Linked DNA regions of Homo sapiens: regions 1, 2, 3, 5 and 6 are each linked to region 4. Evidence: promoter capture Hi-C in 16 types of primary human blood cells and fetal thymus (Javierre and others, 2016). All regions are on one chromosome and are shown on one strand. The core of a region is centred on a gene start or on the middle of the fragment in contact, and the rest is flanking DNA. Distances in the headings are between cores, read along the strand shown.

Region 1 (4,098 bases), core at 1,121-3,620, 1.4 Mb after region 4:
GCTCAAAAACAAGCATACATTTTAAGGCCCCATAGATTGTTTACAGAAGTTAATTCTAAAGAAAACTTACTAAATCCACACCAGTATGGAGATTCCTTAGAGGACTAAAAGTAGAACTACCATTTGATCCCGCAATCCCACTACTCAGTATCTATCCAGAGGAAAAGAAATCATTATATGAAAAAGACACTTGCACATACATGGTTATAACAGCACAATTCGTAATTGCAAAAATATGGAACGAGCTTAAATGCCCAACAACCAATGAGTAGATTTTTAAAATATGGTATCTATATACCATGGGATACTAGTCAGCCATAAAAAGAAGGAAATAATGGCATTCACAACAAAGTGGATAAAGTTGGAGACCATGATTCTAAGTAACTCAGGAATGGAAAACCAAAACTGTATGTTCTCAATTATAAGTGGAAGCTAAGTTTGAGGACACAAAGGCGTAAGAATGATGTGATGAACTTTGGGGACTCAGGCGGAAGGGCAAGAGGGAGGTAAGGGATAAAAGACTACACATGGGTACAGTGGACACTGCTCGGGTGATGACTGCACCAAAATCTCAGAAATTACCACTAAAGAACTTATCCATGTAACCAGGAACCACCTGTCCCCAAAAACTATTGAAATTTAAAAATAAAGGAGAAAAAAAGAAATAGCACATAACACATTCTTCAAAAATACCATAAAATTGAGTAACAAAAAATGGCACAAAAGTTGACACAAACAAAAAAAGGAAGCCTAATTAGTAAGAAACATCCTGTCTCCTGAACAACTTTTGTTTCAAACAAAAATCAGAAATCAAAACCGCACTGAGCTACATGCTCCACCAGTTATAAGACCTGGTTGCTCCTTTCAAAGGTTTTGCAAACCATGTTTTTCACAGAAGCATAACTAGATAGATGCTAGATTTGCTAGATGTGTTGCTGGCTCCAGCTGGTGTCAAAATTAATCTGTGTCCCTGTATTTGTTCTATTTAATTGTGCTTTGATTACTTTTTACTTATGTCCATTTATTCCTAAACCAGTGTGAAATCTACTCATATTTTATTTATCGATAAGTTCATGTTCATTCTTTCTGTTTAGAAATTCTAGCATTAGAGGCAATAAATTTTCCACTTATAATTGCTGTAGTTGCATCTCAGAAGATATACATTTTAAAGCTTTTTTCCTGATTATAAAAGTAACACATTGTTTTTGTAAAGATAAAAGTAAATATTCAGGAATATATAAATTAGATTATGAAGTCCTCTCTTCTGTAATTCCATTCCCTACTACAACCACCCCTCAACCAATACCTTAACTAATTTTACAATTTGGCGAATATTCCTTTAAAAACTTTCCAGGCTATGAAGGGTATATATGTATATAATAATCTCTTTTTAACAGAAATGGAATCATACTTTTGTACTTTACATAAAATTTGTTCTTTTCACCTAAGCATATAAATGGTAACCCTCCATATTGGTACATATAGGCTTCTCTCAATGGAAACATGATATTCAGTTGTATGGCTGTAATCACATGCATTTAACAAGCTCCCTCTCGACTGACATTTCAGTTGTTTACAATTTTGGATATTACAAACACTGCTGCAATAAATATTCTTACTCATACATCTTTGCACACTTGTACAAATATGTATATTACTGTAAGATTTGTCATTTTCTCATGATTATCCCTCAGGTACCAAACAAGATTGCCTAGGACTACAAACAAGGTTGTCTAAGACAACGACCCTCATTTTAAAGTAGAATGACTGAAGAAACAACAGGAAATGCCTACTTAATATGGTTTTATATGGTTCCGTGTAGGTGGAAATAGAAAAATTGCAGAAGAAATACAGGAAGGGACCTAAATGGAATTATTTTAAAAAGAAAATCAAAAAAAGAGGATTTCAGGTCTTATAAAGTATGAAACCAACTTGGTAGGTTTCAAAACTTGTGGGGTGCTACAGACTAACTTCTACCCTATGGACTCTCCTGTCATCAGTCAGTGCAGGTAAAAATTCACATACACCCAGCTTTGACAGTTCTACTAGTCAATGTGGGTACATAAAGGTAACCACGCACCAAGAAAACAAAGCCTAGGATCAAAATAAGCAAGAAAAACTTCTGCTTGAATATTCTCCCTACCCTCACTATTGCCAAGGGGGCTGAGCCCACCTGGAGTGGGGAGCAGAACGGGGTGTTAAAACAATCAAGTAATCCTAACTAGAGGGAACAGAAGGAATAACTGAAGATAACAGAAATTAATTAATTTGAAAATGGAGCTCAGTTTGTTATTTTTCAAAAGCTCCAAGAGTTCTTATTTCTAAAAATATAAAAAATTAAATAGATAAACCAGTATAGGCTCAGGCTGAGCAAAGTCTACCCTGGCATATATGAAAGAATGTTAGTGGCGTTCAGGGCAAGGTGTGATGAGAAATAATTCTGGAAAAGTTGACATGTATCAGACAAAGGACAGTCTTGGGCATCACACTAAAGAATGTGGACTCTATCCAGGGGACAACTGGGACTGCTTTGCACCTTTTTTTTTTTTAAATTGGAGACAGGGTCTCACTCTGTTGTCCAGTCTGAAGTGCAGTGGCACAATGGTAGTTCACTGTAACCTCAAACTTTTGGGCTCAAGCAATCCTCCTGCCTCAGCCTCCTGAGTAGCCAGGACTACAGGTGCACACACTACACCCAGCTAAATTTTTCTATTTTTTATAGGGACAGAGCGTCACTATGTTGCCCAGGCTGGTCTCAAACTCCTGGCCTCCAGCAATCCTCTCACCTTAGCCTCCCAAGCCACTGGTATTACAGGTGTGAGCCACGATGCCCGGCCTAATTTTCACTTTTAAGCAGAGGCGTAGCATGATTACTTTTTAGTCTTGGAGCAATTGCAGTGAACAGTAGGATGGAGGAGGGAACTTTGAGGCAGTGAGAACAAAAAAGAGACTGTAGCAATTCTCCAAATGAGAACTAACATGGACAGTGGCAATGAATAAAGAACATGGTTCTTAGAGAAACAAAGAGAAAAGGGGAAGTATCAGAAGACACTCCGTTTCATTGTTGGATAAATGTTTCCTTATCTATAAAATGAGGATAATTTTCAATACTGTTATTGTAAAGATTATAAAAGTGGGTTTGTTTCTAGTTAACCTATAACTTCTATCTTTGTTTGAGCAAAAATTTGCTGCAGCTTAAATTAGAGTAATGGATGTTGTCTTAATCCGTTTGTGCTGCTATAACAGAACGCCTGAGGCTGGGTAACTTATAAAGAAGAGAAATGGCTTTCTCACAGTCCTGGAGGCTGCCAAGTCCAAGATCAAGACACCAGCATCTGGTGTCTGGTGAGGGCCTTCTTGCTATGTGCTCACATAGGAGAAGGTGAAAGGACAAAAAGGAGATGAATGCTGTGTCCTCACATGGCAAAAAAGCAGAAGAGAACAAACTCACTCCTGCAAGCTCTTTTCATAGCAGCATTAATCCATTCATGAGGCAGAAGCCTTATGACCTAAAGAGCCCTCCCATGAGGCCTGAGCCCCCAACACTGTTGCACTGAGGATTAAGCTTCCAACACATTAATTTGGGGGATGCATTCACACCATAGCAGATATAAACACACTACACAATGCCCCATGAATGTGCACTATTGCCATTTATTACTAGCAGTGGCACATCCATGAATGTTCATGAGTTTAGAGACTGAGTTTGCCATGCTGTGCAGGACAGGGCAGAGGGGCAGCTTGGTGGGCTCTGCCCAGCAGATGATTCCAAGGCCAAGGTTTATCAAACAAATATTGGAGTCGTGAGCTCAGTGTGTCTGAAACCAGAGCACTCACTGTGAGTCAGACCCTGTACCACATACACTGTATGTGTTTATTTCACTTTATTTTCAGAACAAGGATTTTTTTTAAAGACTTTACAGATGACAAAATGCAAGGCTTTTTCTACTTATGAGATTAATCAGCCTCATCCGTGGAAGTCAGAGGGGCCCACACTTACTTCTCCATGCTTTCCCTATGATGCATAACCCTCTGTGTCTGCAATGGCAGAGCAGCAGTTCAATAGAGATATGTCCACAGCAGCTCCGTCCAGCTGCA
Region 2 (4,436 bases), core at 341-2,840, 1.5 Mb after region 4:
GAACGTGGGGAAGGCATCCCAGCAGAGAGAACAGCTTGTGCAAAGGCACAGAAGTGTGGGCATCATTGCTGAGGGAAGGGACACTTTTAGATCCTGGTCCTTCAGCAGGGTTGCTGTCCTAGCCAAGGACTGGGGTGAGTCAGCAGGCCGAATGAATAACACGCAGCCTCCTTCCCCAGCCTACAGGCTCTGCATGATCTGTCCTCTGCCTTCTCTGGTCCCCCACTGACCCCTACCCTGCCCCCACCCGGAACCATGCTCCCCCCACCAGCCTTCTGTTCCTGAGATTCACCAAGCTCAGTCCTGCCTGGTTACTCCCCTGCCTAGAACACACCCCCCTACCCCCAGCACATTCTATGGCCAGCTCCTTTATGTAATTAGGTCTCCATTCAAGTGTCACCTGCCCAGAAAAGTCCTCCCTGATCACCAGAATGAAACAGCCACCCTTGATCATAATGCTCATCCTTCACTAAAAGTCTTATTCATTGACTTGATTTTTGATCCACCCTCCCTCTAAAGGGTAAACTCCATGAAGGCAGGGCTCATGTTTATTTGTTCTCTGCTGTGTCCCTGGTGTCTTGGAATATGCCTGACACATTGTTGGTCCCTGTGATGATTAATTTTATGTCTCAACTTAACTGGGCCATAGGGTGCCCAGATATTTGGTCAAACATTATTCCAGGTGTGTCTGTGAGGGTGTTTTTGAATGAGATTAACATTTAAACCAATGAGCTGAGTAAATTAGGTTGGCTCTCCCCAGTGTGAGTGGGCCTTGTCCTATCAGTTGAAGGCCTGAATAGAAAAAAAGGCTGATCCTCTCCCAAATAAGAGGGAATTATTCCTACTCAGCAGTCTTCAAACTGGACTTTGAGTTTTTCCTGCCTTTATGCTAGAGCTTAAACATCAGCTTTTTTTTGGTCTCAAGCTTGCTAGCCTTCAGACCACAACTACACCATTGGCCCTCCTGAGCCTCCAGCTTGCCAACTCACCCTGCAGATCTTGGGACACGTCAGCCTCCATAATCATGTAAGACAATTTCTTATAATGCATGTCTTTGGTTCTATTTCTGTTGGTTCTATTTCTCTGGAGAACCTGACTAATCCAGTGCTCTATGAATGTGGAATGAATGAGTAAAAGAATAAATAAACAGCGACTTACAAATCCTCTTTCAAAGACAAAGTCTATGCCAGAGAGTCTAACTCAAAAAAAGCAACATAGAGCCCGAGGGGGGCTTCCTGGAGCCACTCCCAGGGACTTGCATGTACCTGCAGGTTTCTGGGCAAAGAAAGAGTGGCGCTCCAAATGAAGGATTGGCTCTCCTGGTCATAGCCTGGGCTTGAGCTTCTTTTCATATTTACTTCTCCCTTCCCTTTTCCTCTGATCCATCAGGAATGGCTTCCCTGGGCCAACCAGCACTTCCCAACATGACTGCATGACCAGCTGGGCTAGAGTGTGGTCCTTCCTAGTGCATCCTTGTGCAAGATAATGATTGTTCACCAGCTCTGAATCAACCAGACCCAGGTCAGGGAGCCAGCTTAGCCAGGATGTCAATAAAACATAGAAAGCTGTCATGTAAAGGTTTTCCCTTTCATATTTCTGCTTTAACACTGCTCACAAGGTTTCAAAAGCACAAGTATGATCAACTTTCTTGAGCTGCCACCTCCCATGATGTTGTTTGTCACAAAGCATTCCTAAGCATCTGCATGCAGTGTCCCCATGCATTCTTCCCATGCAGGGATCCTGCAGATAGTCCCTTTTCTAACTTAATAACTACCTTTTTTAAAATGCTACATATCAGGTACTAAGCTAAGCATTTCCCATTATGATATCTCATTTGACCCTCAAGAGAACTCTAGATGTGGGATCTGCAGCACAGTTCTCTGGGTGGCCTTAGACCAAGACAGTTCTCCCCCCATTTCTTATCTGTAGTTCTCAAGAATAACTGCAGGACATGCTGGAAATAAAACATCCTGAGATAAGAGGGGAGCTGGTCAGGACAGTCCAGGCTCTGTTCCAATCCCTCCCTAGAAATGAGATGTCCTTCCAGGCTTAGCCCAGAGGGTCTTGTAACCCCGAGGTATAAAACTCAGTGTGGGCTGCTTTCTGAGGTCCCTCAGCTGCTATGAAAGTGGAGCACATGCAGTTGAGACTCCATCCACCCAGGCAGCTTTCCTGAACCTTGGAGGACTGGGTGGCAATGAATCCTCGGTTTCTGTTGTCCCTTGCTGCCTGCCTATCTGTAAGTAATAAGCTTGTTTACTTAACTTGTTGTGAGCATGGGTGTTCTGTCTCACCAAACTCAGACCAGTGGGTAACCAGCGCACAGGAAACCTTCTTTACAGAGTCTATTAATAAAGAAGGGGAAACCAAGGATCAAAGATGTCATTTGTGGCTGGGAGCGGTGGCTCACGCCTGTAATCCCAGCACTTTGGGAGGCCGAGGCAGACGGATCACAAGGTCAGGAGATTGAGACCATCCTGGCTAACACGGTGAAACCCCGTCTCTACTAAAAATACAAAAAAAAAAAAAATTAGCCAGGCGTGGTGGCGGGTGCCTGTAGTCCCAGCTACTCAGAAGGCTGAGGCAGGAGAATGGCTTGAACCCAGGAGGTAGAGCTTGCAGTGAGCCGAGATGGTGCCACTGCACTCCAGCCTGGGAGACAGAGCGAGACTCCATCTCAAAAAAAAAAAAAGATGTCATTTGCTAAAGACCAGAGAGCTAGTGAACAGCAAAACCTGCACTGCTAACTACTATATATGTCCTACGGTGGCCCTGTTGCAGAGAAGAAAAGAATCATCTGAATCAGAGGACAATATTTTAATCCAAAGGCTACGTGGCTACAGGTTGAAAGCAGAAATCAGAGCTATCCACAGGTGCAGGAGCCAGTGGGCCATCATCCATCAGCAGTGGGAGATGGCATTGGCAACCAGGGCTGAGGTTTGCTGGGAGCCAAGCTCTGGGCTTCAGCAGCCACATCTCATTTTCCTGAGGTCATAGCAGAAGCTCTGCTCCTCTGCCTCTCAAGTCATCAATTCTGACCCTGGCATCCAGCTACAAAAGTGATTTTACAGCATCTTGGGGATTTTGTGTAAAACCAAATTTAGGCATCAGGACAGTTAAAGGACACCCCACCCTCTTGCTATGACCTGGAAGGAATTTGCTTTACCTCTTTTCTATGAGATTGCAGATCCATTCCAAAGCTCTAAAGTCTAGCAGGCAAATGGGAGGCATGTGTGGCATTGGTGAGTCTGGGCTCTGCCCTAAAGAGCCAAACATTTTAAGAGAAAATGTTGAGAAAGGACCTCAGTACTTAGAATCTGAAGACTTGGATTTGAGTCTTCAATATATCACATAGTCTTTCTGGGTCTCAGCTTCCATTTCTCAAAAACAGTAGCAATATCTCCACCAGCATCTACTTTACTGCTTGGCTGTCCGTGCTCCAGGGAAACTGCAGAGGTCAGTCCAAGGTCAAGAGTATCCATCCTTAACAACCCAGAACCTCTTTCACAAGCCAAACAGAACCTAATTGTTGGAAGACAGCCAACTCTCACTCCAAAAAATAGCAATGTGTTCTATTGAAAATGCAATGTTTTAGTAGTTTAATTTCTATGCATTTTAGCTTTGGAAATTAAATTCAAGTTTGGAAAATTAATTTTTTTAATGTAAATTGGCTTTGGCTGTGAAAGCGCTGAGATCAAGTTCTGGGGTGTGGCCTTCAGTGATAATGATCATATTTGCATATCAATGGCCTCTCACTTCATTTGCTGCCTTGGCCAGCCTCTGAGCTTAGATGGCTCAAGACAGAATGGAAATATGGGAGAAATACTAGTCGTTCTTCCTTTTCAAAAGTTTAAGTATAGGAAGTGCTTTGAAATAAAAATTTCCCCCATGGACTTTTGAAGTCAGACTGAGCAGATAAAATAGATAATATTTTATCAAACTTACCAAGATTATAAGAGAGTACGGAATAAATTCCTTAATGTTTGCATGGGTGCACATGCCCTTTGGAATTCTCACTGGGCCTTCTAGAGATGATTCATGCACCCCCAAATATTTATTGAGAGTTCACTTAGTGCCAGGCACTGTGCTACGTGATAAGGCTACCCAGAGGAAGAAGACAGATGTGATCATTGTCCTTTGGAGCTTGGAAGTAGGAAAGGCAGATCTGAATGAAATGTTGAACAACTGTAGAAATATTATCTGTAATAAGAGCTCAGAGTAAAAAATAGAGTATTCTAAGAGTGTATAAGAGGGGGCTTCCATGAGTGAAGGGACTGATGAGCAAAGACATGAAGGAAGAACACACGTGAAGGGAATCAGTGTGTGTGTGTGTGTGTGTGTGTGTGTGTGTGTGTGTGTGTGTGTCTTGGGAAGAAGGAAGGGAGAGGAATTGTTTGGGGTTTAAGAAACAGAAAGACAGTGTAGCAGCAGTGCAG
Region 3 (4,698 bases), core at 947-3,446, 1.3 Mb after region 4:
TTTTTCCTCAACTGGCTGGCAAGTAAGCTGGGGTATTTATCACCAACTTCCAGCCCTCATTGATTGAGTTGTTCCTGGGGTCCCCAGAAATTGTGGCTGCTCCAAATGCATGGTGAACAACCATCTGTGACCAAAAAATGCCCTCAGACAGAGACTCAGAGCTGCCACCACATACCGGAAGAGTTTGCAGGTAACCTCTGGTGTGGGCTGAAGGTAGGGGGATCTGAGCATGGCACCAACAATGTTTGCTCTACCCTCATCACTATAAGGAACAACAAATATTTGAGGAAGTAAGTCGATTTTGAGCACTCCCAACATCTGAGAGTACACCTGCCATGATTACTTCAGCCAGTTATTTAAAACATAATAACTGAACACCTGTTATGTCCAAGTTCCACTTTTATGTACAGCACTGTTCTACACGTTGTGGAAAAAGACTACAGAATCACAATTTACAACCAGGCCCTGTTATTTATAAGGGCCACACTGCACAAAAGTGCTCAGCCACCAGAGGCCAGGACCACCTCACTTTAGTTTAATACATCAGTTTCAAAGGCATCCTTGTATCCCTGCGAATTCCCAAGACTTCTTTCACAATGTTTCTAGGGAATGGGAGTCTGAAACACACAGAGAAGGGAGAAGGGAGAAAAGTCATCTCAAAAATACCTATTTGAAAGAAACACAGTGACATGTGTTTGAATGACATCAGAATATTTTATTCAGCAAAACATTTAGGATCTCTTTGTTGACTGAGGTGTTTAACTTTTAAAACACATAACATGACCCTCATATAATGCTGGTAAGATTATAAAATGGTGCAGCCATTAAAAAAAATCTGGGAGTTCCTCAAAAGGTTAAATAGAGAGTTACCAGATGACCCAGTAATTCCACTCCTAGGTATATACCCAAGATAATAGAAAACATATGTCCACACACAAACTTATATGTGAATGTTCATAGCAGCAATATTTATAAGTCAAAAAGTAGAAATAACCCTAGTATCTATGAGCTAATGAATATATCAATAAAATGCAATATACTCACACAATGGAATATTATTCAGCTCTAAAATGAAAGTGCTAGTATACACTACAACATGGTTAAAGCTTCAAAATATACTGCATGGTTCCATTTATATAACACGTTCAAAGAGGCAAATCTATAGAGACAGAAAGTGGATTAGTGGCTGCCTCTCCTAACAGGAGGTTAGAGAGAAATGAAAAATGGCTACAGGGTACAGGGTTTCTTTTGAGGGTGGTGACAATGTTCAATTTGTGGTGATGGTTGCATAGCCCTGCAAACATCCTAAAAAACATTAAATTGCACACTTTAAATAGGTGAATTGCATGGTATGTGAATTATACCTCACTAAAGCTGTCATTAAAAAAAGATGCCACGAAGTTTTATTGGAGATTAATTTGCACTCTTCGTGAGCACTTAGGATGTATCAGTAAACAAATAGGCACTTTCACTGCCCTCGAGGAGCTGATATCCCCAGGAGAAAAGTGGACAATGAATCCTAAATGGGATATGTAAATTATATGATATGTTGTTGTGGAAGATAATCAGCAATGTGGGAAAAAATTAAGCAGAGTAAGGAGATAAGGAACTGGGGGTGGCTGATAGAGCCTGGTAGTCGGGGTAGACATCATTGAAAGGGTGACATTTGGCCAAAGGCTTGCAGGAGCTGGCCATGAAGATGTCTGAGGAAAGAGCATCTCAGGTAGAGGGCACGGCCAGTGCAAACATGTGGAGGCAGGAGTGTGCTGACACTTTGGAGGAATAGCCAGGTTAGTCAATCATCGTGAGCAGGGAGAGATTAAGGTTAGAGTGAGGGTGATGAGGTCAGAGAGGTAACTGGAGGCCTTGCAAGCCCTTGTCAGGCCAAGCAAGTGGGGAGCCCTGATGATGACTCAGATCAGATGCACAGCTTCAAAGGGATGCAATGTGATAGAACCTGATGGGACAAGTAGAGGCTTTTCTCTCCTCTGCTTAGTGGCTCACCCAGCTGGGTATCAGGGTTCTTGTTCTTTTTCCCCTGAGCAGGGGAAACAGGTAGCCTGGAGCACATTCAGGCAAGGGAGGGGGTGTATCATGAGGATTTGCCAAGCTCTAGCCCCCAAAAGCAAAACTGAGAATTCAGGAAGCAGCAGGCTGATGGGAAGCTGCAATTTCACCATCTAATAACCTCACATGTTTGTAATTTTCAGCTTCCAATTTTTATATCGTCATGGTCAATTACAGGTCACAAATGGTTTCCAAAGTGGGCTGCCCAGGGAGGCAGTTGTGCAAATCCATTTTCCACAGTCATTCCACTCCCAGGCTGCTCAGTTCCCAAGATATGCTTTGGAGCAAACCATGTCAGAGCATTCAGAGGGATAGTGAGAAGGAAGGGAGCTCCCCCAATCCCGGTTGCATGAAAAGAAATGGAATCAGCCTAGTGTCTCAGTGCCAGATGGTATTTCCATCCCTGCTCTGCTAGGTACATGCTGTGTGACCTTGGCTCAGTCACCTTATCCCTCTGAGCCTTTTCCTTATACAGAGTAGCCAGACCTGACTTAACTCAAAAGGGATGTTGTGAGATACCTCATCAAAGGCATCATGGAAAACTCCATATACCAGACCTCATCCATGTGTCTAGTCTTGAGCTCTTTCATTTTGTTTAATAGTTTTATTGAGGCACAATTTATATACCATAAAATGCACTCATTGTAAGTGTTCAAATTAATGACTTTTAGTGAATTTACAGAGTTGTGTAACCATCACCACAATCCCAATTTTTAGAATATTTCTATCACCCCAAAAATGATATCTCTGGAACAATTCTTTGCAGTTAGAGTCCCATATAGAATAACATCAATTTAATGCTGTATAAGGCAAAAGAGAAAAATAGTTATTTATTGGGTTGGATCAGGTGAAATTATAATTTGTATAGGTTAAAAATGTTCAAATATTAGTAATTTCATAGTTTAGCCATTTTTAAAAATTTACAAATACAGTACAAAATTAAAATTTGCATATCAACTCAAATACTATATATGATTGCCCATGAATTGCTTAAATTATGAATTTATACATTGTAATGTATACAGAAAACTATGTATATGTTGGACTTTGTGAGTGATTGAAAGGATTTGTAATTGTTTTTAAGGGGGAAATTTTGACTACGCTCAGTTTTCACCTTAGGCACAGTCCTTAGAAAGAAACCTCCACAAGTGGTACCAGCTATGATTCAATTCAAGCTAGGACCTTAAATTTGTAGTTGAAAATACAAAATAAAGCTTAGAAAATGTAGATAAGCTATTCATGCACTGCCAACCACACCACACTGTCTCAAGAAATGTGAATACAACTTTGTAAGTAGAAACCTCTTGTATCTATAGCATAAAACGATCATGGTTTGTATTTTCATGCTTACTTTCTTTTTTTTTTTTACTTTTTCGAGACAAAGTCTCACTGTGTCACCCAGGCTGGAGTGCAGTGGTGCAATCTTGGCTCACTGCAACACCTGCCTCCTGGGTTCAAGTGATTCTCGTGCCTCAGCCCCTCAAGTAGCTGAAATTACAGGCATGTGCTACCACACCTGGCTAATTTTTGTATTTTTTGTAGAGACAGGGTTTTACCATGTTGGCCAGGCTGGTCTCAAATTCCTGGCTTCAAGTAATCTGCCAGCATCGGCCTCCCAAAGTGCTGAGATTACAGGCATGAGCCACGGCACCCAGCCGCATGTTTACTTTTTTGTCTCTATTCTCCGCTAGTGTCTAAGACATGTGAGGAAAGACATGAGACTTTGTTTGCACCTCTATATGTCCAGCACGTAGGTACACAGCATTTGCCATGTGGTGGATGCTCAGTAAATTCTGAATGAATGAAATAAATTTCGTGGAGAAGAAAGATCCTGATTCATATATGTAAACAACCCACCCCTACTTGGCCACATACACACACAGGAACTGGCATCACCATAGACACTACAAGATAGTTTGTGAGCGATAACTGCATGAACAGATCCAAAAGGCTTTTCTATCAATGTATGGCAGATCCATTTTAAGCCAGCTCAAGCCTGGCAGAGACACTTCCTACTCGAGAACACAGAACAGCCTGTCTTCCAGCACCAAAGTCAGGAGTTTCCGATCCCAAACCTGGGAGGAAAATGAAGGCTGAGAGAAGAGGCATTTCAAAGAGCACCACACCACACTGGGTGGGTACCTGGGGTCTTTAAAGAGTCAGAAGCCAGACTGTGGCCAGGAAAGGTCTAGAGGGAAACTGCCCAGAGAAGCCGGGAGATAAGATGCTGGAGCTGGTGCAAATGCTGCTGGCCAGGCTTTCTATGGCTTGCAGTCAAGAGAGAACTGTGGGGATGTAGGAAGACCTGGGCTGCAGGGTAGGAACAGTGCTACTACTCCAGTCCAGGCTAGTTTATACAATCCTATGGAAAAAAAGATGCTACAAGCCACCCTACCGCCACCACAGCTCTCCCCTACCTTCCCCAAAGGGAAGAGGTATCTCCAGTCTAACTGACCAAAACCTAAGACACTGATTAAACAAGGGTGCTAATGGGCCGGGTCACTGCATTAAAAACATGGGTGGTTCTTTGCTTCCTGCCTCCAAGTGGGAGTGCAGACTTCTGCACTGGTAGATATCAGTCACTGTCTCTGCTACTAATAAGGCAGTTTTGTATCTCCCACTGGGTGTCTG
Region 4 (4,730 bases), core at 643-3,142:
GGCAACAAGTTACAAGTGTGACACCAAGCTCTTTAGTGGCTTAGAAATCTCCCCACCCGGGTCATCCCCTGGGATCTGCCATGACTGGGGTCGCTTGTGGTGGTCTTGGGTCAGGCCTCTCCTCGCACACTTCCTAACTGCTCATCTGCCCAAGGCAGGGTTAGAATGAGTGAGTGATGGAGCAAACAGCTGGAAGCTCAGCTCTGAGCAGAAGGGATCTTTCCATTCCAATTGTCCCTAAGGGCTATAGCATTGTGGTATCCCCAGAGAACAGCACAGAGTAAGGCACACAATTAAATGCACCATAAATATTGGTAGAATTATTAATCTCCAAAGCAGCTTGTAAAAGGTTCAACTCCCAGGCCACCCCCGACAGGCCTGCCAAATTCCACTCTCCCCAGCAGGGGTCTGGGAAGCAGGACTTGGAGAAATCTTCCTGGTAGTTCTTTGACCAGGCAAGTGTGGGAGGCACTGGCTGGTCCAACAGGCTAGTCCAAGCACGTCAGCTTTTGAAAGTGGTCACGGTCATGGTGGTGGTGGTGGGAGTCGGGGTCCGGAGAGGGGTGGAAGAATTTGCCTGGGATTGTAAATTGGGCTTCCATGCCAGGGAACTGGGCCACTTTACCTAGTGGGGACTGGGAACTGGGGACTGACAGAGTGACGCCCTGTGTTCTCTGCCATGCCAACTTGGGTCCAGAGCCTGGGGCTCCCCACTTTTGGAAACCCTGCCATGCTTGATTTTCACAATTCACTTACAGTCTCCCCAGTCCAGTCCCTGGTACCCCAACAAGGATGGGGGTGGGGGGCTGTGCTGACACAGAAGAAGGAGGGCTTTGGCCAGGTAGCAAAGTGTTCACAAAGTGTGAATCCCTTAAGCATTTCTGGGTATCCCTGCCCCTGGCTTTTACATCTCAGACCCCCAGCCAAGACTCAGGTACCAGCTGCCTCCCAGGACAGCAGAGAGCCAGGCTGTGGGCCGTGGGCTGCCAGGGACAGCTCCAACCCTGATCTATGGTTTTAGGCTTTCAGCCCCAACCAGGTCTTTGTTAAGACCGAGAAGAAAAGGGAAAAAGCTACAAGGTTCTGTCTCCCTAGAAAAGGAAAGGGAAGGCTGCCAGGGAAAAATTGTAGGGGGTGGGGGGATGCCTCATGCCCCTTCTGCGCCCCCTTCCGCGTGGTGGTGGGGACAAGAGAGAGATGTGGGTGAAGAAGAAGGTGGGGTGGGCGGCTAATTGAGGGGGACGACGATTGTGGCGCGGTCAGCGATGCGCCCAGAAGAGTGTGAGTGGGTTGTGTGTGTGTGCGCGCGCGCGCTCTTAGATGAAATTCTCATCTCAGGGTGTGCCCGAGACCCTGGCCAGCAGCCGCCTGCCCCAGCTTTGGGCAGACGCCCCCACCCGCTTTCGCAATTCACCTGGCCCCTTATCTTGAGTTGCGAGGGCTGCTCCCTCCCTCCCTCTTCTCGCCACCGAACCCCCATTCACCTGTTCCCCACCCCGAGTTCAAACGGCTGCTGCAGCTTCCTCCTCCCCGCACCGCCCCCGTACCTGCGCCCCCACAGGGCAGACGATGCTTGGCTGCGCGGCGCGGCGCGGGGCGAAGAGGCGAGGACCCTGCCCGGCGTGTGGGTGCGGGGGTGATGTGTGGACGCGCGTGACTGTGCCAGCGGCCCGAGCTGGTCGGCCCCGGAGAGGGTGCGCGGGGGAGCCCGCGTGTGCCAGCCGCGGGCGTGTGCCAGGCGCGGGCGTGCGCGTGAGGGTGTGTGCACGGCCGAGGCGGAGCGCCCGGGCGGGCGGCGGCGGCGGCGGCGGCGGCAACGGCGGCGGCGTTAGGACTCGGGGGACACCGCCCCCCGCCCCCCGCGTCCCGCCCCCGCCCAGCCTCCCGCCTCAGTTCGCGCCGCGCCTCGGCTTGGAACGCAGGAGCGCCGGCTCCGGGAGCCCGAGCGGAGCCAGCCGCGCGCACAGCCAGCGGCCGCGCCGGCGATGCGGGGCCACCCCGCGCCCGCCCCAGTCCCGGCCCCGGCCCCCGCGGGAAGGGGCTGAGCTGCCCGCCGCCGCCCGGATGGCGAGCCTCGCCGCGCTCGCCCTCAGCCTGCTCCTGAGGCTGCAGCTGCCGCCACTGCCCGGCGCCCGGGCTCAGAGCGCCGCAGGTGAGTGCGCCCGCCCGGCTCCCCTGGGCTCCCCGCTCCCTCCTGGATGCGCGCGGGCCCCCAGCCGCGGGGCCCTCGGAGGAGAAAGTTGTGTGGGCTCGCGGGGGCGCGGGTCCCCATGGCCGGAACCCGGGTCTCAGCTTGCAGGCGCGGGAAGCAGTGTCCCCGCGCGCCCCGGCCAGCGAGCCCGGCCCCTCGCGTCCCTCGGCAGCCCGCGTTTGGCGAAGTTCCCCGCTTCAGTTTCCTGCCGGCCCCCCGGGCTGGAGTAACTTTCCGCGGTTGTTGCGAATATTTCCACTTGCTGCCTCCCACTTGTCGGAATCTGCCACTTGAGTGTTTGGGGCGGCGAGACGAGGAGCGGCACCGACGCCCGGGGTGGAGCGTTCTCTCCCGGGCAGCTCCTCGGGCAGCGCGCGCTTTTAGTGGGGAGGACAGGTCCCCAGCAGGCCGAGGCTGCCGGGGCGGCGGCTTTTCTTTTTTCCTCGGAGATACAGGAAGCTCTCCATTTGCTCTGAACACGCTGCTCCCCTAAGCAGGCCGCTGTAGGCACCCGAGGGGATGTTTGCGTTGATGACCGAGAGCAATACCTCCGCCCTACCCGCTGGCTTTTCTCCGAGGTAGCTGGGCGCCCGTGTTAAGGCCCTTGGAGGGGAGTGGATTTGACCCGTGAGCGCGTCCGCTCCTGAAAAGTTCGGGGAACTCATATTTGGGTTTGGCCACGGGAAGGCGGTGAGCAGAGGTAGTTCCCCAGAGTAGGGGGAGCGGGGGCGGGGGGGTGGTGCCTGCCGTGCTCCTAAAGGCACGTTGGCGGGTGCTGGAGGGCACCACAGTCCAGGGTCTTACACATCACCAAGCCCCACCGCAGGCAGCTTCCACCCCCGAGCCCCCCCCCCCCCAAGAGTAGCGGCGGAGGGAAGAGAAGGGAGTGCTGCAGGTGTACTTCCAAGTTCAAAATCACCTTAAAGTTTCTTAGCACCGATTGCTTTTGGTGTAACCACGCCGGCCTGAGGTGGCTGGGATTGCGGGGACAGGCTGAGATCAGCCCGTGGGACGCAGGAACAGGCTGGTTTCGGATCGCTAAGCAACAGCTGTGCCCATTTATTATTTCACCGAAAGAAGGAAAGGAAGAAAGAAAGAGCAAAAGAACGAACCTGTGGGGAGGTACAGCGTCTTTGCACAAGCTGCGTCTGAGGTTAAGGGCCGCTGGAAGGACATTCCGTTGGAAATGCTTTAGAGCCTTCCTTGCTTGGTACTAAAATGGAAGCGGAATAGGCGACTTCTGTGAAGGGACAGCCTGTTTCCCTGGCTGGGAAGTTGGGTGACGAAGACACTCCTTTTGAGGTGTGTGAAGCTGAAAGGTTGGATTAGCAAGTGAGAGAAGAGGGACAGCTACAGCACCATTCTAAAGATGGTGCACAATTCTTGTTTTCCTCATTTTGGGGGGTGTGTTAGGTGTGCTAGGGGAGGGAGGGGTACTAGGGAGGATGCCCGGGGCAGTCCTGGGGATCCAGGCATGATTCGTGACTCAGATTTTATATCCTCTAAGGCATGACCGGCCAACCACACATTAATACCACTCACGTTCCCGCGGCAGAAACAGGATCAAAAATATTCCATCACGGGTCTCGAATCGTTCTTGGGTAGCAAGCGGTAAAACCCGTACCGGCTCGGGAAGCTGTCCAGTGCTGAACGCCGCCCGTTCCGGATGCTCCCGCCAGGTGGCGCTCGCCCACAACTATTAAAATGCAAATCTGGTTGCTTTCATATCAGGAATAGAACTTCTTTTCAATTTTTAAATGAGTAATGTGTTTATTCAGCAGCCTTTTGTTAAAACATTTAGAGAAGTGTGAGGAGCGAGCACCTTTTCTTTGTTTGCTCTTTAGAATGCAGGAGAAAGAAAAGAAATCCTGGAATATGGTTTGGGAAGAAATCTGTGGTTCTTTTGGGTCTACCTGGGCAGGGTGGTTTCTGCAAACCTGCGATATAGCATATATTTAGCAAGTGGGTGCCTTTGTGCCAGGGGCTCCTTAAACGAATGGGATTAGCTTGTATTGGAGAACTGGTGCATTCTAAGCCTCACACATTTGTAGAAATGGGGATTTTCTGTATATATCTGTCCTCTCCTTTCCAGTTTAACGGCAACTAGACCATCTAAATTAGATTTTTTTTCCCCAGGGTTCCTCATGAACATCTGTATTTGTCAAAACAAGAATACTGTAAATGTTGACTTAAAAATGGACTTATCTTATTTTATTCCTAAATTCAGAAATTGTTAGTATTTCAAATCTAGTATAAATATGACAATAACTTGATTTCCTTTAAAGTATTTTATTTAAAACTTTTGGCAAGTTTGGACAAATACATTTTAAAACTAAGTAGTGTGTTTTCCATGTTCTTTTGATCTGAAAATTCCCAATCTTGAAAGCAATTTCAATTTATAAGGTTACATCCATAACATAGTTGGGCTAATATGTTTTGCTGTAACATGTTGGTCTCAGTGTCCAAAAGTCGGGGCGGAAGCTTGTCATCAAAAGGCAATTTCCTTTTTCCTTACTCTAAGACATATTTCTTGAGCCAC
Region 5 (4,482 bases), core at 168-2,667, 1.3 Mb after region 4:
TGAGGCCAGGAGTTCATGACCAGCCCAGCCAATATGGTGAAACCCCATCTCTCCTAAAAATAAAAAAAAAATTAGCCTGGCGTGGTGGCATGTGCCTGTAATCCCAGCTACTCGGGAGGCTGAGGCAGGAGAATCACTTGAACCCGGGAGGCGGAGGTTGCAGTGAGCTGAGATCACACCACTGCACTCCAGCTTGGGTGACAAGAGTGAAACTCTGTCTCAAAATATATATATATATAATATATATATAACATATTATTATATATAATATTTCAATATGTCAAGAAACATAATGAAGAAAATTGGAAGGCAAAAGACAAATGAGAAAATAATTGAAATAACTGCAATGTGCTTACCAGAAAAAGGGTTAATATTCTTAAATTTTAAAGACCTCTTGCAAATTAGTAAGAAAGGAATAGGCAGTGGCAAATTGAACAGAGTATATAAATAAAGAAATCATGAAACAAATGACCAAAAATATATGGAAAAATGTTTACCCTTACTACTAAACAAACCAATGAAAATTAAAACAACAATGTGATGCCATTTCTCATTCAGTGAATTGAGCAAAAACACTTAAAGTCCAGTCCTGTGCACAATGTCAGGATATGGGAATTCTCAAGACTTATGAGGGTGCAACTTAATGGTACTTTCCAGAAGGCAGCTAAGCAATGCATGTTACAAGATTTTAAAATCTTTGTACACTATTTTTTCTACTTTTATAAAATATATAAAATTTTTCATTAAAAATAAGTTTTAAAATTCATATGCTTTTAGCTAGTCATTTTACCTGGAAGAATTTATCTAAAGAAAGTAATAAAGAATGTGCATAAAGATTTATGAAGATATTATGGGTGGCGATGGTAATGGTGAAGATAATAGCGATTTGAGATGCTTTTGCTTCAAATGCAAAGAATGTCTTTGACTTCTTATATCTGCATCATCCGTACCCCCCAAATGGCTAAATTAAAAAAAGAAAAATCCTTCCTATTAGGCAGAGACCCCAAAAGCTTCCAACACTAATATTATCCCAAGATCCATTTGTATAATAAAACCAGTATTTTATATATTCATCATCCTTGAACATCTTAGAAATCTCTCCTAAAATTTAGTATCATAAAGAAATGACAATTGGTACCTTTTCTATTTCTTTGAGATAATAGTAATTACCTAGTAAAGTCCTCCTTGGCCTCCATCCTTTCTCAAAAGCCTGTGTCTTGACCTTTCATAGCTCAGGGGTAGTGGGGCAGGGAAAGCGGAAATCATGTGGGATAGGACCTTCTTATTAATATCAGGCTAGAGCCAAGTCCCAGTCTCTGTGGTTCTAGTTTGACCTATCGAGACCCCTAAACTGCTGAAGTTACCCTTATTTACATTTACTCAGATGTCTTATAAAAAAAATAAAAAGACAAGATTAACTAAGAGCCCTGAGTTCATAGGTTGATATACAATAACAATAAATGCTTATTTAAAATGGCAAATGAGGCCTTTGAAACATAATGAAAGCTCACATAACAATCAAATAAAACACGGTCAATTGTGACAGACTGGGCACCATTGTTCTTGGCTAAGTGGAAATTTAGAAGTGTTAAATATCATTAGAAGGCTTTATTCTTTTTCTAGGAAAGGGTAGAAATTGATAGAAACTCTATATTGTCTGAAAATCCTTTCTGGGAGAAACCCTGTTCCAAGAGAACCATCTATGTCTCCTTCTGGGCTATCTCCACCTTGGCTCATGTCTGGGAGCTTGGATAGATAGTTCTGGGGTGGTCTTTATAAAATCAAACCAGCTTCTGTGTAGATGAGTGCAGAGAGCAAAGCTTCTCAATGTTTATTAGAGTGGGCTCTAAAGCCACCCTGAACCTTTACACCAGCCGACTGCCTCCAATACAAGCAGCCAGACTGTATGAGATTGATAAAATTAAATGCTTTCTGGCCTTCTCCAAAGGCTAAGGAAAAATATAGGTTTTGAGCAGCCCTTGGAGGGGTGCCATACCAGGGTCATCTTGGATTTCTCCCAAGAATGACTGGGAGGAAACAGCTGGGATGGGATTCCCAACAGAAGAGATAGAATACCAGATGGCCAGACAGAAGGAAGATAGATTCGGTCAAGGAGAGTTAAGACTCAGCTTTGAACAGCTGCCAATCCCAGAGACTAGTAACACCAGCTCATGACAGTACCCGCCAAGTACAACCTTTCCTGACCATACGTCTCCTCTCTTCTCAATCCCAGCCCTGGAGAAACCAGAAGTAACTATTGGTGGGATGGGGAGGGGAGGAAGGAAAGAAGCCAACGCAGATGGAAGAGAGAAGCTTTAACTTCTCCCCTTCCTGCAACTAGGATCCTGTATGTGACCCAGCATTGGCCAAGCAGATGCTCCTACCTGGGATGCTGAACCCTAAGGAAGTGAAGCAAAGATGCATTTACAATTGAGAATGCATTCACAGCAGCAGTAACCAGCAGCATCATCCTAACCAGAATGTCCCTGTGGTCCCTGCTGCCCAGCTTCCTGCCTGGTCCTCAGCCTTCCCAATTCTATGAGCCATACCCAATATCCCACCAATGAATTCCTTTTCCACTTAAGTGAGCTGGGACTGTTTCCTATTGCTTGCAACTGAAACCACCTCTTTCATATCCAGCCATGCTATTTTTATCTTTTTGACTCTTACCTCTCAGATACCACTGTTTTCCTACAGAGGCAGAGCAACTTGAGACTGTAACAGCCAGGGTCCTTGCATGAAGCATAGACAAACTCATACTGGGATCACATGAACAGGACTTAATAAAAGAACCATTTGCAAAGGTGGGGGCAGGTTATAGGGAAGCTTTCAGGGACAGTGCAGTACCCCGGGATTAGTAACAATGTGGTCGTTATCTTTTCTAGGCTCAAAATGACGAGGAGAGAGAACAGATACCAGAACTGGAAGGAGAGAATTTCATAAAAGGAGCCACCTTGAGGGGAACATTTACCTGCCACTGAAAGGCACAGCCAGCCTGAGGCAATTCCTTCAGAGGAATAGATACCCTGAGCATACCCTCCTCCCTCCAAACCTCTGATCTCCTGCCAAGGGTCCCTGTTGACTGGACCCACCTAGCTGAAGCTAAAGGGCACAGGAACCTGCTCATGCAATCGATCAGAGTCAGCCTCCTGGGAAGAGAGCAGAGCACAGCAGAGAGACAGCAAAGAATAGCTCTGGGTGGTGAAGAGGCACTTGAAAGGCACTTGACACAACCACCTAAGACAAAAAGAGCTGCAGGTGATCCTCACTTGCCCACGGGGATATTCACCTAACCTGGCTTCTAGCATCCCAGTCCTATCCCAGACAACTCCAGGTTAGAACTCCGCCAAGACAAAAGAACTTACTTACAAGGCGTTGGGGTTCTCTGCCTTTGCTTCCTTTATCTGTCCCGGGACTGCTTTGCAAGAGCACCTACTTCTGCATCGTGGTCTCCATTACTTCCTTCAGCCTTTCCCACCATTCACAGTTCCATTCCTTCTTCTATAGCATGAAGACGCCTGCACACACAGCTGAAACATTTTCAGTTGAGGACAAATCTAAAAGTTTTGTTTCTGCCAAAAAGCCAGGGGATATAAAACCACAGTGAGACATGGAGGCAGCCAAGAGACATAAACCTCAGATCACAGGGCACTCAGATCCAAGCAACAAAGCGGAGCAACAAGCCATGTGAGCCATTTGTCATTCTGCAGGCAATTGTCTGTTGGCATTTTTCTGAGAATATGAGAGGAAAACAAGATTCCCTTGAAAACATAGTTCAGAAAAAGTCCGTACTTGACAATATGAAGACCGTAAGCAATTGCAGATGGAGAGACTGAGAATTCTTTGAAACTACAGAAGTATAAAAGGCTTTGATACAGAGAAACAACCCGTATAACATAGACCATCATGAGATGCAGAAGCAGATTGGGGAAAAACACTGACCTACGATTCATCTATTCAACTTTCTACAAATATTTATTGAGCCTTGTGGGCACTGGACTAGGATTACAAAAGAAGGCCAAAAGAGCTAAAACAGAATGCTTTCCCTTAGCTATGTCTGATTAAGTCTTTTTTATCTTTTCCCTAGGGAAAAAGGGTTGGAAAAACAATAATAGCTACCATTTTCTGGGCATTTACAATGTATCTGATATTGTCCTAAGCATTTCCCATTTACATCTCTCTACAGCTCTGATAGGCAAGTACTATTCTTACCCCCATTTTACATATAGGGCATGGAAGGCAAGTAACCAGCAATGAGTCACATCAAAGGAGATGGTGCACAGGAATAATAACAGAACTAGGACCATAAGGTGTAGTATTTCACTGGATGTATAATGCTTTACACAATAAGAGGTGTGTATGGGAGAGGATGGGGACATAACAGAGGGAAGGAGAAATGCATGCTACCTAGCTACCTACAGATGCTTTATCAAAGGGTTCAACTAAACTTTCAGTCTAATTGATTCCCCCTTCCATGGTTAT
Region 6 (4,327 bases), core at 1,565-4,064, 1.4 Mb after region 4:
GATGACAGAGGTGATGATGACAGTGATGATGATGATAGTGGTAATGCTCACAATGTTCCTAGAGCCTAAATTTTATACCATATGCAAGTTTTTCTATCAAAGTAGTTTCAAATTCTTTCAGACATTGGGAAGATGGGATGCTTTCTGCATAACCACAAGAAAAAATTGATGCACTTAATTCTGTCACACGAGTCAGCAACAACTTTACTACCAGAAAATATGGCTATATTATATGCATGCAGGTTTCTGCATCTCAAAAAAGTAACAATACATAAAACACTCCTTTAAAAATCACATTTTAAAATTTCCCATTAATGTTTATTGTTCATTCATTTTTGGCTCAGTTTAAAGAAAATTTATGGAAGAAAAAGTTAGAATTGAGAAAGTTCTATCCCAAGACCTTGATGTTATTGATGAGTAGGGAAAAGGCCACCATGATGTGATTTTGGTGTTCCCCGTGGGGATCCTTTGAGAGCCACCATGGCATAACTATGACAAGCCAGTGTTGCAGCCTGGTCTCTGTGGGATGTGGCACCTTGGTGAGGCCACCATGGCATTGGTTTCATCCACCACACTGCAGAATGGGAAACACAAAAGTAACTGGATTCTGGAGGAATCCAGAATGTTAATGACCACTCATCTAACTCGCAAGAGCCAGAGGCCATTTTGTGAATTTTGACTGGGAAATGGAAGTGCCAAGGAAAGAAATACCTTTATGTTAGTTGGCCAACACTTTTTCTTCCCTATTGGAAAGATTTTTTAATAAAAAAAAAAATTATAGCAAAAAATATTTCCATTGATGGCCAGGCATGGTAGCTCACACCTGGAATCACAGCACTTTGGGAGGCCAAGGTGGTCAGATCACTTGAGGCCAGGAGTTTGAGACTAGTCTGGCCAACATGGTAAAACCCTGTATCTACTAAAAAAAAAAAAAAAAAAAAAAAAAAAAAAAAAAAAAAAAATTAGCTGGGCATGGCAGCACATGTCTGTGGTCCCAGCTACTGGTAGGCTGAGGCACAAGAATCGCCAGAACCCAGGAGGTGGAGGTTGCAGTGAGCCGAAATTGCACCACTGCACTCAAGCTTGGGCAACAGAGTGAGATTCTGTCTCAAAAAAGCAAACAAAATTTTTTTTTTCCATTGACTGAGCCCACTATGTACATGAAGGAAGTTACCTTGATGCATTTTCTCTCCTCCTCATTTTCTCTCCTCTTCACAGCAATGCTGCCATGTATTTGTTCTATCTTCCATTTTGGAGTGAACAATAGAATCTACTTGGTAAGGTTGTTTATGGATTAAATGAGATAATGCCTGTAAAGTGCTTAACTCAGCAGAGCACACAGTAAAGTGCTTGATAAATGCGTGTTCTTATTGATTCTGAAGCTTGAGAAGGATTCACTATTCTTTGTATAAGCAACAGCAGATTCAAATTTAGCTGTATCATAATATATTGGATTGCTCCTGGTTGCCCTTCCAGGACTAGTCTTCCACCTTCTTTTGTACCAGGGAAGCTAAGTCCTGTGGTTATGTCAAGAGGCTCCCTTGCCCTCTCCTGGGCTTGGCCAGTGGGGAACACCTGCAGAAACTGGGAGAGAGGGAAGGATAAGAGTGAGGTCAGGGCACCTCTTTTCCCAGATCTCTATGCCAAGAACTGAAGCTGACCATGTTGCTGAGCTGAAGCTCTTTACTACTGTGAGACAGGCCTCTCTCCACAGCATGATCTACAGGTTGTAATAACCACTTCTTCCCTCCCACCCTCTTTTTTCCTCCCAACTTTTCCAATTCCCTCTCCCCAGTACTAACCTCAGGATACTGCCTATTCCTTGTGATTTCTCTATACCTTTCCCACATCTTTGAAAAAAATTCCTTTCTCAAACTCTCTTTAAATTATCCAGTTTGAGTGTGCCATTGGTTTCCTGCTAGGACCTAACAGAAGTTCCCCCCCACTTTCCCTGTTGACAGGATCCTTAGTGTCTCCACAATTTTTTTCATGTTCATGATTAACAGAAATACCTCATCTTTAGTTAGAGCTAAACAATTTAATAAGTATGTCCTAACAGTAGCTGATTTTTTAAACAATGCACATATAGTGTTTCTATACACCAATAGTGAACTATCCAGAAAAAAATCAAGAAATCAATCCCATTTATAATCACCACAAAAATAACACCTAGGAATTTTTTTTTAGTCAGGGTCTTGCTCTGCCACCCAGGCTGGAGTGCAATGGCACCATCACGGCTCATTGCAGTCTCAACATCACAGACTCAAGTGACCCTCCCATCTCAGCCTCCTAAGTAGCTAACATTACAGGCACACTCCACCGTGCCCAGGTAATTTAAAAAAAAATTGTAGAAGTGGAAGTCTCACTATGTTGCCCAGGCTAGTCTCAAACTCCTGGGCTGAAGTGATCATCCCACCTCAGCCTCCCACCTAGGAATGAGTTTAACCAAGGAGGTGAAAAAGCTTTACAATGAAAACTATAAAACATTGATGAAAACCTGAAGAAAACATATATAAAGACATCCATGTTCATGGATTGATAGAATATTGTTTAAAATGTTCATACTACCCAAAGCAATCTACACATCCAGTGTAATCCCTATCAAAATACCAATGATGTACTTCACTGAAATATAAAAGTCCTAAAACGTATATTGAACAATCCTAAAATGTATATGGAACCACAAAAGATCCTAAATAGCCAAAGCAATCTGGAGCAAAAAGAACAAAGCTGGAGTCATTACACTTCCTGTCTTCAAAATATACAACAAAGCTATAGTAACCAAATAGCATGGTACTGGCACAAAAATAGATGCACAGACTAATGGAACAGAATGGAGAACCCAGAAATAAACCTACGTACTTACAGCAACTGATTGATAAAAGTGCCAAGAACACACATTGGAGAAAGAACCACTCAACAAATGGTGCTGGGAAAGCTGGATATTCACATGCAGAAGAATGAGACTAGACCCTATTTCTCACCATATACAAAAATCAACTCAAAATGGATTAAAGACTTAAATGTAGATCCTAAAACTATAAGCTATTAGAATAAATCCTCCATGACATTAGTCTGGGCAAAGATTTTTTTGTCAAGAACACAAAAGCACAGGCAACAAAAGCAAAAATAGACAAATGAGATTTCATCAAAATACAAAGCTTCTGCACAGCAAAGAAAACAATCGACACAGTGAAGAGGAAAACTATAGAAATATTTGCAAACTACACATCTGATAAGGGTTAATATCAAGTATATATAAGTAATGCAAAAACCTCAAAAGCCAAAAAACAACATCCAATTTAAAAATGGGCAAAAAGGGCTGGGTGTGGTGGCTCACGCCTGTAATCCCAGCACTTTGGGAGGTCGAGGTGGGTGGATCATATGAGGTCAGGAGTTTGAGACCAGCCTGGCCAATATGGTGAAACCTAGTCTCTACTAAAAATACAAAAATTACCCGGGCATGGTGGCGTGTGTCTGTAATCCCAGCTACTCGGGAGGCTGAGGCAGGAGAATTGCTTGAACCCAGGAGGTGGAGGTTGCAGTGAGCCAAGATGGTGCCGCTGCACTCCAGTCTAGGTGACAGAGCAAGACTCCATCTTAAAAAAAAAAAAAAAAAAAAAAAAAAACCGGTCAAAAAATCTGAACAGGCATCTCTCAAAAGAAGACGTACAAATGACCAACAGGTATATGAAAAAATGTTCAACACTACTAATCATTAGGGAGATGAAATTAAAATCACAATGAGATATCACTTTACCCCAGTTAGAATGGCTATCATCAAAAAGACAAAAGATAACAAATGCTGGCAAGGATCTCAAGAAAGAACTTATACACTGCTGATGAAACAGCAAGTTAGTACAGCAACCATGGAAAACAGTGGGCCGTTCCTCAAAAAATTAAAATAGAACTACCATGTGATCCAGAAATCCCATTACTGGGTATATACCTAAAAGAAAGGAAATCAGAGTATCGAAGAGATAGCTGCACTCCCGTGTTTACTGCAGCACTATTCACAATAGTCAAGATATGGAATCAACCCAAGTGTCCATCAATAGACAGATGGATTTTTTGTAATGTGGTATATATACTCAATGGAATACATTTCAGCCATAAAAAAAAGAATAAAATCCTGCCACTTGTGGCAACGTGGATGAACCTGGAGAATATTGTGTTAAGTGATGTGAGCCAGAAACAGAAAGATAAATACTGCATGATATCACTCATATGCAGCATCTAAAAAAGCTGATCTCATAGAAGCAGGAAGCAGAATAGTGGTTACCAGAAATTGGGGAAGGTAGAAGGAAGAGAAGAAGGGAGAGATAGG

What was found. The method cuts DNA at HindIII sites, captures the fragments that hold promoters and counts their contacts. A CHiCAGO score of 5 or more calls a contact.
Region 1: a contact is called between a fragment that was not itself captured here and the fragment with the promoter of PTPRT in region 4, in 5 of 17 cell types (endothelial precursors, monocytes, M2 macrophages and 2 more). The highest score is 23.1, in endothelial precursors.
Region 2: a fragment that was not itself captured here is called in contact with the fragment with the promoter of PTPRT in region 4 in 2 of 17 cell types (endothelial precursors and M2 macrophages); the score reaches 13.4 in endothelial precursors.
Region 3: a contact is called between a fragment that was not itself captured here and the fragment with the promoter of PTPRT in region 4, in 1 of 17 cell types (M2 macrophages). The highest score is 5.4, in M2 macrophages.
Region 5: a contact is called between a fragment that was not itself captured here and the fragment with the promoter of PTPRT in region 4, in 1 of 17 cell types (endothelial precursors). The highest score is 6.1, in endothelial precursors.
Region 6: a contact is called between a fragment that was not itself captured here and the fragment with the promoter of PTPRT in region 4, in 1 of 17 cell types (endothelial precursors). The highest score is 9.8, in endothelial precursors.

Annotation. Positions count from the first base shown.
Region 1 is chr20:41,750,425-41,754,522 of GRCh38, reverse strand. No RefSeq gene overlaps it. Among named protein-coding and RNA genes, the nearest start is that of CHD6, 130 kb to the right of the region's middle. The HindIII fragment of the contact is 2,394 bases long and covers 1,174-3,567 here.
Region 2 is chr20:41,713,257-41,717,692 of GRCh38, reverse strand. No RefSeq gene overlaps it. Among named protein-coding and RNA genes, the nearest start is that of CHD6, 97 kb to the right of the region's middle. The HindIII fragment of the contact is 1,326 bases long and covers 928-2,253 here.
Region 3 is chr20:41,925,025-41,929,722 of GRCh38, reverse strand. All of the region lies in intron 1 of LOC101927182 (a long non-coding RNA gene), which reads right to left. Among named protein-coding and RNA genes, the nearest start is that of CHD6, 310 kb to the right of the region's middle. The HindIII fragment of the contact is 2,175 bases long and covers 1,109-3,283 here.
Region 4 is chr20:43,187,068-43,191,797 of GRCh38, reverse strand. It overlaps PTPRT (protein tyrosine phosphatase receptor type T), which reads left to right and starts at 1,892. Exons shown (of 31, transcript NM_007050.6): 1 at 1,892-2,152. The coding sequence starts at 2,065. It overlaps PTPRT-DT (PTPRT divergent transcript), which reads right to left and starts at 1,733. Exons shown (of 3, transcript NR_186414.1): 1 at 1,548-1,733. The HindIII fragment of the contact is 4,711 bases long and covers 1-4,674 here.
Region 5 is chr20:41,902,983-41,907,464 of GRCh38, reverse strand. LOC101927182 (a long non-coding RNA gene) reads right to left here and starts at 3,617. Exons shown (of 6, transcript XR_001754611.2): 1 at 3,366-3,617. The HindIII fragment of the contact is 810 bases long and covers 1,013-1,822 here.
Region 6 is chr20:41,786,849-41,791,175 of GRCh38, reverse strand. No RefSeq gene overlaps it. Among named protein-coding and RNA genes, the nearest start is that of CHD6, 170 kb to the right of the region's middle. The HindIII fragment of the contact is 699 bases long and covers 2,465-3,163 here.